Regions from separate parts of the Homo sapiens genome. Here region 1 is linked to region 2. The links are contacts of gene promoters, found by promoter capture Hi-C in blood cells and fetal thymus (Javierre and others, 2016). All regions are on one chromosome and are shown on one strand. Each heading gives the region's core, a stretch centred on a gene start or on the middle of the fragment in contact. The rest is flanking DNA. Distances are from core to core; before and after follow the strand shown. Region 1 overlaps INTS12 (integrator complex subunit 12). Region 2 holds the start of GAR1 (GAR1 ribonucleoprotein).

What was found. The method cuts DNA at HindIII sites, captures the fragments that hold promoters and counts their contacts. A CHiCAGO score of 5 or more calls a contact.
Region 1: a fragment that was not itself captured here is called in contact with the fragment with the promoter of GAR1 in region 2 in 1 of 17 cell types (total B cells); the score reaches 7.7 in total B cells.

The regions. Positions count from the first base shown.
Region 1 is chr4:105,703,784-105,707,664 of GRCh38, reverse strand. It overlaps INTS12 (integrator complex subunit 12), which reads left to right. Exons shown (of 8, transcript NM_020395.4): 2 at 3,856-3,881. LOC124900748 (a long non-coding RNA gene) reads right to left here. Exons shown (of 3, transcript XR_007058215.1): 2 at 2,275-2,351; 3 at 1,691-1,786. LOC124900747 (a long non-coding RNA gene) reads right to left here and starts at 1,283. Exons shown (of 2, transcript XR_007058214.1): 1 at 1,242-1,283. The HindIII fragment of the contact is 200 bases long and covers 2,532-2,731 here.
Region 2 is chr4:109,811,577-109,818,366 of GRCh38, reverse strand. It overlaps GAR1 (GAR1 ribonucleoprotein), which reads right to left and starts at 2,605. Exons shown (of 7, transcript NM_018983.4): 1 at 2,563-2,605; 2 at 1,989-2,214; 3 at 277-431. The coding sequence starts at 2,202. It overlaps GAR1-DT (GAR1 divergent transcript), which reads left to right and starts at 2,985. Exons shown (of 2, transcript NR_186620.1): 1 at 2,985-3,536; 2 at 4,767-5,448. RefSeq lists enhancers at 1,860-1,929, 2,100-2,149, 2,500-2,549, 2,560-2,959, 3,130-3,229. The HindIII fragment of the contact is 3,017 bases long and covers 504-3,520 here.

The DNA.
Region 1 (3,881 bases), core at 1,382-3,881, 4.1 Mb after region 2:
ATTGTGAGAATTTTACAGATAGGAACATTGTACTACAAGTCCCCAGTCGTGAAAGAGGTGATTGCTTTGCTTTTGCTTTTTTGATGTTTGGAGTTTTTTTTGTGGGGGCAGGGGTGAGTTACTTTTGTGATTTTTGCTGAAGGGACCTTGGAAATGGCTACAATTGTGTAGAAGGAGAGATAAGACCACTATACTTTGATCACTTAATTCCAGTAATTCTATAGCCATTATTTTGTTGTACTTTGCAAAGTGGCAAAGAGATAGGCAAAAAGATAAATATAGACTCTGCCCTTAAAGTACTCAGAGTTTTGTAGGGGACATAACACTTGTGCCAAAAAAAAAAAAAAATGCTTCAAGGGAGAAAGTTGCAATACCATGAAAAAGCACTATGAGATATCCTTGAATGGAGAGACTATTAATAGGGTTTGGAATGGAGAGGGGCACAGCAGCTGTCAGTCAAATCTTCATGAGAAGTATTTGAATAGGGTCTTGATAGGATGTAGATATATAAAAATAGGTAAAGAGCTTCCTGGACAAAAAAAATAAGAGTGGCAGGGTCAGCTAGCTATAAGGCAGATCTGGGGATGATGAATGATAATTTTTGTGCCAGTTACTGAATCTTCTTAAATGCTAGGCCAAGAAATTTGGTCTTTATTTCGAAGGTGGTAGAAAGCCCTAACTTCTCAGCAAGAATTTTTTTTTTTATTTTAATGAAAAAGAAGAAAACTGGGTTTCAGGAAAATTCATATGGCAACAATGTTGAAGTCAAGGAAAATAACGAGGTTATTGCCATAGTTCAAGTAAGCTAATAAAACCTGAATTTCAGTAGTAGCAGTGGAAGTGAAAAGTAGGACAAGTGTGAAAAATATTGCCGTCAGAATCCACAGGAATTCTGATTATTTGAATATAAGGAGTAGGGAAAGACTCAGTGAAGGAAAGACTTTGGTCTCAAACCTGACTAAAAGAAAGTTGTGTCATTTATTGAAAGTAAGAGCAGGACAAGGAACTTTTCGGGAAGATAATCAGAATCTCAATTTTAGTTGTAACTGAATTTGAGATGCCATTAAGGAATCACATAGACACATACACTAAGCATTTGGAAACATGGGATTCAAATTTAAGAGATTTGGCTCGCACTTGTAATCCCAGCACTTTGGGAAGCCACAACAGGAGGATTGTTTGAGACCAGATAAGAGCAACATAGCAAGACCCTGGCTCTACTTAAAAAACAACAAAATTACCTGGGCATGGTTACGGTGGTGCATGCCTGTAGTCCTAGCTGCTTGGGAGGCTGAGGCAGGAGGATCACTTGAGCCCAGGAGTTCGAGGCTGCAGTGAGCCATGATCTCAGTGCACTCCAACCTGGGTGACAGAGCAAGACCATGTCTCAAAAAAAAAAAAAAAAAAAAAGAGATTGAAGTTGGGGTAAAACATATTAAATCATCTACCCAGAGATGATAGTTGAAAACCTGATGTGTATAAGATTACCAAGAAGAAACTGCTAGCAGAACTAAGAAGATAGCCAAGGACAAATACTTGGACAATACCAAAAGCAACAAAGAAGATAAGCCAAAGAAAGAGTAGTCAGAGATAGAAGAGGAAAAACAGAAAAGTTGAGTATAACAGAACTCAAGGGAAGAGAAAGTTTTATGAAATTGGAAGTAGATAACAAGTATTTACTTGGCCAACATTTACAGTTATTTGCTGTTTTCCAGGAACTCTGCCAGACAGGGGTTACAACAGTAGGCAAGACCAATCCACTGCCTGCCTTCATGGAACTTACATTCTAATGAGAAAGAAAGATTATTTACATAATTAACAGTGTGATTAATATTACAAATAAGTACAGAATGTTTTTGGGCTATGTAACAGTGAAACTTCTAGTTTTGTTGAGGGAATGTGCAGGAAAAACTGAAACTTGAGAGGTGACTTAAGATGGAGGTGGGGGTGGCACACTTTCTACTGAAGTGCTAAGGTAAGAAAGAGTATATTGGAGGACTTGAAATAAGTCAGATAGCTATAACAGAGAGAGTGAGAATGGCCTAAGATACTAGGTAACATTTAATGAGTGTCAACTATGTGTCAGGTACTGTTGTAACTGCTTTATATGTATTATTAATCATGTAGAGCAATGGTCCACAACCTTTTTGGCACCAGGGACCAGTTTCATTGAAGACATGGTTTCAGGATGATTCAAGTGCATTACATTTATTGTGCACTTTATTTCTCTTATTACTACATGGTAATATATAATAAAATAATTGGACAACTCACCATAATGTAGAATCAGTGGGAACCTTGAGCTTGCTTTCCTGCAGCTAGACGGTTTCATCTGGGGATGATGGGGTATACTGTGACAGATCATCAGGCATTAGATTCTCATGAGGAGCACACAACGTAGATCACACACATGCACAGTTCACATAGGATTCGCATTCCTATGAGAATCTAATTCCACCAGTGATGTGACAGGAGGCAGAGCTCAGGTAGTAATGCAAGTGATGGGAGTGGCTGTAAATACAAATGAAGCTTCCCTCGCTTGCCTACTGCTCACCTCCTGCTGCATGGCCTGAAGGTTAGGGACCCCTGATGTAGAGAATTGGAGACCTTGTTAAGAATCTTATTCTTGAACCTTTGGATTGTGAGAAGTGATAAAAGGATTTTAAGCAAGTGAGTGATATGAAAAGGTTTAAAGGGATGACAAGAGTGATTGTGGGAGACTGATTAAGCTTTTGCAGTGGGCCAGATAATAGATGATGCTAGGTTGGTCTAGGGTGGTAGTAGTAAGGATTGAAAAGGGTGGATAGATTTGAGGTATGTTTAAGAGGTTTGGTTATTGAATTGGGGGTGGGAATTAAGGAAGTGGGAAGAGTTAAAGCTGCTTCTGGGTTACTGGCTTGGGCAATAGGGTAAATATCATTTGAAAAAGGGATTACTAGAGGAAGAACTGGTTAGGAGAAAAGGGAATAGTGTATGAGTGGCTCTGTTGGAGACACGTTGCATAGGAGGCACCAATGATATATCCATGTCAAGCTGGCAGTTGGATCTTGGGAGAGACACATGGACTGCAGAGATGTATTAGTAATCACTGGCAAAAGACTATATAGATCAAATTGTCTAGGGCAATAATTCCCAAACTTTAGAGTAGATAGAATTGCCTGGAAGGCTTAACACAGATTTCTAGACCCTACTCCCAGAGTTTTTTCTTCAGTAGGCCTAGGAATGGAGACCAAGAGTTTGTATTTCTAAGTTCTGACGTGATACCTATGCTGCTGACTCAGAGAACACATTTTTGGAAGAAGATGTAGAACAAGTCAAGAAGAGACCCAGAACCTAGCACTGAGGAACTCATTTTTAATTGGATAGGAGGAACCTACAAAGATGACTGACAAAGAAGTAGGAGGGACAATCGTATGTATTAGGTTTACCTGACTGAGGCGGCGAATGACTCATGAGAGCATTTTCATGGAATAGTGGGACAAAGGCTGAATTGCAAGAATTGCTGTGTAAATAGAAGGAATGAAGAAAAAGAGTACAAAAGCATATGATTTCTGAGAACGTTTTGCTATAAAAGAGAAAAGATAGAAGATGTTTGAATATATTTAATGTCAATGAAAAGATGCCAGTAGAAAGGCTGAAAAAAAAAAAAAGAAGATATGGGAAATAATCCATAGGCCAAGGTTCAAGAGGGGACAAGAAGAGATAGGATCCAGATCCAGGTGACACTACATAGAGAGCTACCTTCTCCTTTTTTATCAGATGGGAAAGAGGAAAGGATGAGTGCAGGTAAGTTTGTAGATGTGCTGGAAGGAAGTCGACTTAATTCCTCTCTGACAGCCTCTCTTTGTGAAGTAGGTGAGGCCATCTACTGAAACACAGAA
Region 2 (6,790 bases), core at 1,356-3,855:
CACTACATCCAAATCAGCCAACTTAATCCTGTAGTACTTATCCAAATGGCCATCATTAATAGAATTTTCCAAAAAAAAAGTCACCGTTCTAGGGTCTGTCATTTTAATATCTATGGATGAATACATTCTCCCCTTGATTCTCCTTCATGGTCCAATCTGTAGCAATCCTGTCTAATTTAATGAAGCAACAACTTTAATTTATACTTAACTGCCTCCTCAGAAAAATGCAAATAGCAACCTTTGAATATTATCAGGCCTTCCAATGAAAAAGGATACAAAATCTCTGAGTTGTCCAAATATTTCATCCACTTTTCCAATTTGTTCTTTGTTTTCTAAGTAAACAGGAGCATTGAAATAAGGCACCTTATTTTCATCTGTGGTACATTTACAAACTATGTCATCTTCACAGGGATGCAGGAACTCTCCTAATACTGAAACAGGACAAGAAAATGTTAAAACATAGAACTATTTCAAACGATACTGACCAACTGCTTCTGGAAGCTTTCTTTTTGGCTACCTGGGACTTCACCATAACTGCTCTCCTCTGAGGCAGAAGACCACAGTCTTAGGACTTCCTGGGCTGGTATACCAACTCCACAACACACTAGCTATTTGACCTAGGAGAAGTTACCCACCCTCTCTCTAATTCAGTGTCTCATTTTTAGTATGCACTAATAACATATAATGTATAGCTATACCTAATATACAGTAATGTAAGCACTCAATGGAATAACAAATGTCAAGTGCTTAGAACAGTGCCTGGCACACTGACACCATTCAACCTGTAACAGTTATGTTATTACAACTTATTATCTGATTCAAAACTCTGCTTCATTCTCTTGGTTCTCCCTTTTCTTCAATGCCTAACAGAATCAGCCTTCATTCTTTTTTTTTTTCTCTTGCCTTAGAACTTTTCCATTCCCACTACCACCTCTTTAACAATGATTCATTGTTTTCAAGGACATCTGGAATCTCAAAATAACTACCTTTATTTCTAACTAGACTGTCACCCCAAACTAAAATACCACATTCCTGCAAAACCAAGTCTTCATTCCTATCACCCAAGCTCAAAACCTGGAACCCTTTATTATCAGCATTAGCTAAGTTCTACCGATTTTGTTTCCTTTGAAATCTCTCTCCTATCTAACCCTTCCTTTTTTTTCCTCACTGTCACCATCCTGATTCAGGCTCTCAAGGTCTCATGTATGGACTGGTACAACAGCTTGTGGGCTGGGACCTTTTATTCTAGAAACTGCTCCTTTCAAACCATCCTGCATACTCATCCAAGCCATTCTTAGTTAGACACTACTCACCCTCTCTCCTCTTTAATGTAGTAAGTTTCACTTTCTGTGACTTCCATTCCCATCTCATTGTTAATTACTCTAAAACTACCCTAAATAGGTGTTTTTCTAGATTTCCTCTCTGGCAGTTTCCCTCTCAAGCAAATTGTTTTCTCACTTATCTACTTTTGAGTAGTAACAGAAAGCATGGGCTTTGGAGTCAGAATACTTGGCTTTGTATTTCTTTCTTTTCTGTACAGACAGGGTCTCCTGCTTTATTATCCAGGCTGGTCTCTAACTCCCGGCTTCAAAAGATCCTCCCGTCTTAGCTTCCCAAAGTGTTGGGATTACAGGCGTGAGCCACCGCACCCAGCCTGTATTTCAGCTATATCACTAATTGATCACTTATCACTAACCTTATGACCCCAGCAAAAAAACTTAACTCTAAATCATAGTTTTCTCATCTGTAAAATCGGGGAATTAGGCATAAGTACTCACGATTACCTATTTAATATCTTCCTGTCAACCCTCAAGTTCCACCTCCAAGATGCATTCTAAGTATCCCTCAGCTTTCTTGATCTCCCCACTCCACCCTTACATGCTACATTCTCCACACAGGCTTGTGTATCCCAAACTTGCTGCCTAACAACACAAACCCCCAACCCACACCTACTCCTTCAAATAAGCTAAATACTGAAGACTGCATACAGACTACACGTTCTGGAGGTCCTTGGTCTTGGCCTTTGTTAAAGCCTCCGCGGCCACCCCCTCGTCCAAATCCTCCCCTGCCGCCGCCTCTGAAATTGCCGCCGCCTCCACCGCCGCCTCCACCTCGGAAGTGGTTGCTGCTGCCACCTCGGTTGAAGCCGCCACCTCCACCACCTCGATTAAAGCCTCCACGACCTCCGCCTCGAAAAGACATTCTCTCTCCTCCCTGATGAAAAAAAAACGACCTATGTCTTCTGATCACTGTAGCCTCTGAGTATACTCCAACCCCTCGGAGCTGCGGTGAGAACACCATAAAGGAGACAAAAGCAGCCCTGTCACCTCACCCACGGTCAGACAGCCAGTGACCACCAACCTGATGGGTGAAGAGTTTACTTCTCCATGGTCTCGTGAGCGCCGACCGACCACACACCACCCTTGCCGCCCCATGATTAGTATCTCCTCCCCCTACAGACAGCAAGGTCTTCGCACCGCATCCCCTTCCTTCCTCCCTCCCTCCGGCAGTTGGGTTCCACGTCCAGCATTTTCAAATCCTCCGGCTTCTACGGCCACTCACCGGCGCCACGTGCCCCTCTGGCCCTGGCCTTGCGCACACACCCACCCGCGGGGTACTTCCGCCGCGCTGGAACCTCCTCGGTTACCGTACCGCCACAGAGTTTTTTAAAGACCAGAAACTTGAATAACTGGTTTGCCAAAAAAAAAAGCCAATCACCCGCGGAACAAGCAACACTGGTTCCAAAACAGCCTTTAGCGCTGGAAAAGTGGCAATAATAGATAACCTTAACCACTAATTTACAACAGAGAGGCCAACTTGCCTGACGCTGAGCCGTGGAAGTGACGTATAACAGCGGCGTCCTTTGCAGCACGACGTCCCGGAAGTGCTGCGGCAATGTTGCTCTTGGAGATAGCTGGCGTTAGGGATCCGCCTTCTCTCCCAGAGGCGGGGCAGGTTTCTGTTTGGTTGCCGCCCTAACGGCCAGAACTAAAGCACCTTGCAAGGAATGAAGTTGGTTCTTGAAGTCCGTGCTGACTGGCTGGGCGCATTTGCGCATTTGCTTCTCTGGCTGCAAAATGGCCCGCAACAGCACTCACTAATTTGTTGCTAACTTCAGGAACTGTGCGGACAGGTCTCTGAGGCTTCTGAGCCGCGCTATGTCCAGTAGATCTGGGCGCCTCAGAACCTGTCACAGCCGACGGAAGCGTTTATCTGAGTTTCTTGTTTCTTCCCAACCTTTTGATTTTCGCACCATTACGCGCTCAACTATGCCTCTTCTTTTGTCCTATGGTCTCAACTAATTAAAGGAAGAAAAGCAATGCATGTGTGTGTGTAATTTTAAAGAAACTATGCTGTCTTATAGAAAACCAAACCATCATTTTTATCTTTTGTACCAGGTATTCAAGTATGTTTTGAGCACCGACGGGCTGTGAACTGGACTGTGCTGAAAGCTCCTCTCCCTCTTCTCTCTTTAAGCCCTTTATATTTGACATCAGCTTCCCCCACATTCTCCAAAGCTTCTCTCACAAATAAAGGTAATGACTTCCCATTTATTAAATTTGGTTGGAGTCTTTTACACCCAAACCCTCTGAGACCTTACCTTGATATTTGATCTCGTGTTTAGAAGAGGGTGGAACTTGGTACCTATCTAATTCAGAGGGTTATTGTAAATGGGATTTTAAAATACCTTTGTAGGCGGGGCGTGGTGGCTCACGCCTGTAATCCCAGCACTTTGGGAGGCCAAGGCAGATGGATCACTTGAGATCAGGAGTTCGAGACCAGCCTGGCCAATACGGTGAAACCCCTTCTCTACTAAAAATACAAAAATCAGCCGGGCATGGTGGCACACGCCTGTAATCGCAGCTACTCGGGAGGCTGAGGCAGGAGAATCGCTTGAACCCGGGAGGCGGAGGTTGCCGTGAGCCGAGATCACGCCACTGCACTCCAGCCTGGACGACAGAGCAAGGCTTGGTCTCAAAACAAACAAAAAACAAAATAAGTGAGAGAGGAAACTTTACTTGTTCTTTTTCTTTTAGTTTAGTAAATGCTGCAATTTGATTTTAACGAATGTTGGTCTTTTTATGGGCCTATATAAGTGTATTATTTTTGAAACAAAAAATGAAAATTACCTATTTAGTATGAAACCTTTGCTTATCTTTTGCTGTGTATTTGCTCAATTCTGAATTGAACTTGAGATTGTCACACACAGATTGCATTTTCAACTGAAATGAGATGATTTTTGTCTTTACTCTTAAAACTTAGTGAGAAAAAGCTTGCTTGAACAAGAAGTTTTAAAGTATGTCAAAATGTTTATTACTTTCTTAAAAATGTCAAGCTGCTCTTCTTTCTCAGAAATCCAAAACTTGTAGAAGCACAGATCAGGCCAGGTGCTGTGGCTGACGCCTGTAATCCCAGCATTTTGGGAGGCTGAGGCAGGCAGATCACCTGTGGTCAGGAGTTCAAGACCAGCCTGGCCAACATGGTGAAACCCTGTCTCTACTAAAAATACAAAACTTAGCCGGGCGTGGTGGCGGGCGCCTGTAATCCTAGCTATTTGGGAGGCTGAGGCAGGAGAATCGCTTGAACCCGGGAGGCGGAGATTGCAGTGAGCCAAGATTGCGCCACTGCATTCCAGCCTGGGCAACAGAGCAAGACTCCGTCTCAAAAAAAAAAAAAAAAAAAAAAAGAAGGAGAAACACAAATAAGTACATTTCATCTTATATCTACAGTCATACATTCACAAAGTTCTTCCTCTTTTCTCAAAGCCAGGTGCTCAGGCTGAGAAGATTCAAGGAAAGGGTTCCTCACGTAGTTATACAGTTGTGTTCCAGGGGAAGGAAAATATTGTTCGGTTTTGTTCTGCAATTCCCCACGGTGGTTTTCGGTAAGACTTGAGACTTCCTTATTCTAAAGTCCAAGCAGCAGTGGAAACATTTCAAGATCCCTTTTTGCAATATAACTTTTCCAAAGATTCAATATTTATTTAAACCCAAAAATCTTGTCACTCGAAGTAAAACGATTTTCTCCAGGGCCTGAAGATCCTTGTTCAACTAGTTCATGTGATGAAAATGTCTGTTAAGTAGGTGATATGGTTTGGATGTTTGTTCCCTCCAAATCTCATGCTGAAATTTGATTCCCAGTGTCGTAGATGGGACCTCGTGGGAGGTGATTGGATCATGGGGGCAGAATTCTCATGAATGGCTTAGCACCATCCCCTTGGTGATAAGTGAGTTTTCACTCAGTTCACTTGAGATGTGGTTGTTTTAAGAGTCTGTGACCTCTTCTATTTCTCTCTTGCTCCCACTCTTGCCATGTGACATGCTGGCTCCCCATCACCTTCCGCCATGATTGTAAGCTTCTAGAGACCTCACCAGAAACTGATGCCAGCACCATGCTTCCTGTAAAGCCTCCAGAACCATAAGCCAATTAAACCTCTTTCTTTATAAATTACCTAGCCTTGGGCATTTCTTTACAGCAATGCAAAAAAAAACAAAAATGCTGGTTTCCACAGCCATTCTTTATCTTCAAAGAATTTGGTAAAATCTGGGCTACTGTTTTCTTGAATGTATTTCTGTGATTCACTTTCTAGGTCAAGCGTCCTGTTAAGGAGCAGAATCTGTATTACCTTCTCTCACTCCAATCCGTAGTGTCAATAAACATTATTTTGTGTAATTTCTGTAGGTCAGAAATTAAGGAGCAGCTTAGCTGGATGATTTTGACCCAGGGTCTCTCATAAGGTTGCAGTCAAGGTATCACCTGGGGCTGCAGTCCACTGAAGACTTGACTAGGGCTGGAGGATCCTTTTCTGAGGGAGCTCACTGACATGCCTAGCAAGCTGATGCTGCCTACTGCCAGCCCCAGTTCCTTGCCATACAGACCTCTTTACAGGGTGCTTGAGTACTGACATGACATGCCAGCTGGATTCCCCCAAAATGATCTGCTAAGCCATAAGATTTACGCATGTGGAAGGAGATTTATATGGGCCTTGTCCAGGTTTTCACATAGTTTAAAAAAAAAAATTTTTAGAAGTGAATTGCATTATGTTTGATAAGTCATCTTCATAGCATCATCTAGAACTTTTTTCATTTCTGCTCCAAAACTTTCTGACATCAGCACTCTCTGGGAAGAAAGCAATGAGTTGTGAATATGTCAGGATTTTAATGAGAATTGAAATCTCTGAGGGAACCAATCGTTGATAGGGTACCATAAATAGATACTGACACAGTTCTTCCAAGAGGTACCTTCTTTTTCCAATATGAAGACAGTAAATATATCTTTACCTTTGCTTCTTTGCAGCAGTGTTTAATAGAAGAAAAATTTTCTTGAATTTTGCCGTAATTTATAAATCTTGCAAATGCTACTTTATGACATTTGTTGTTGAAATCTGATGATTCATCAACCTGGATGAGAAGTTGTTAGGTTCTTTTGATGCTATGCAGCATTATGTGACATGTCATCAATCACATCAATTTATCAAACTTTGAAAGTGAAACCGTTTTAGTTTCTCATTACATCATATGCTGGCGTCTGACTCTCTGTAATTATACATGCTGAAATTGTGAGGTCCCATCAATTGTGGGGCTCTTTCCTTTTCTAGTCAAAAGGTTCTTCTGCTAAATAACTTGCTTTCTGGGCCTTTTTACTGAAGGTGACTTAAAAAAATAAATACATTCTTTACTCTGGGTTTCCAAAGGCCATATAAAATTATCTGCTCCTTTACTATGGTTTGCAGTTAAGTGTCTTTTCAATTTTGCTGGAGCCATTGCTTCATTTATAAGTTGTGATTCTT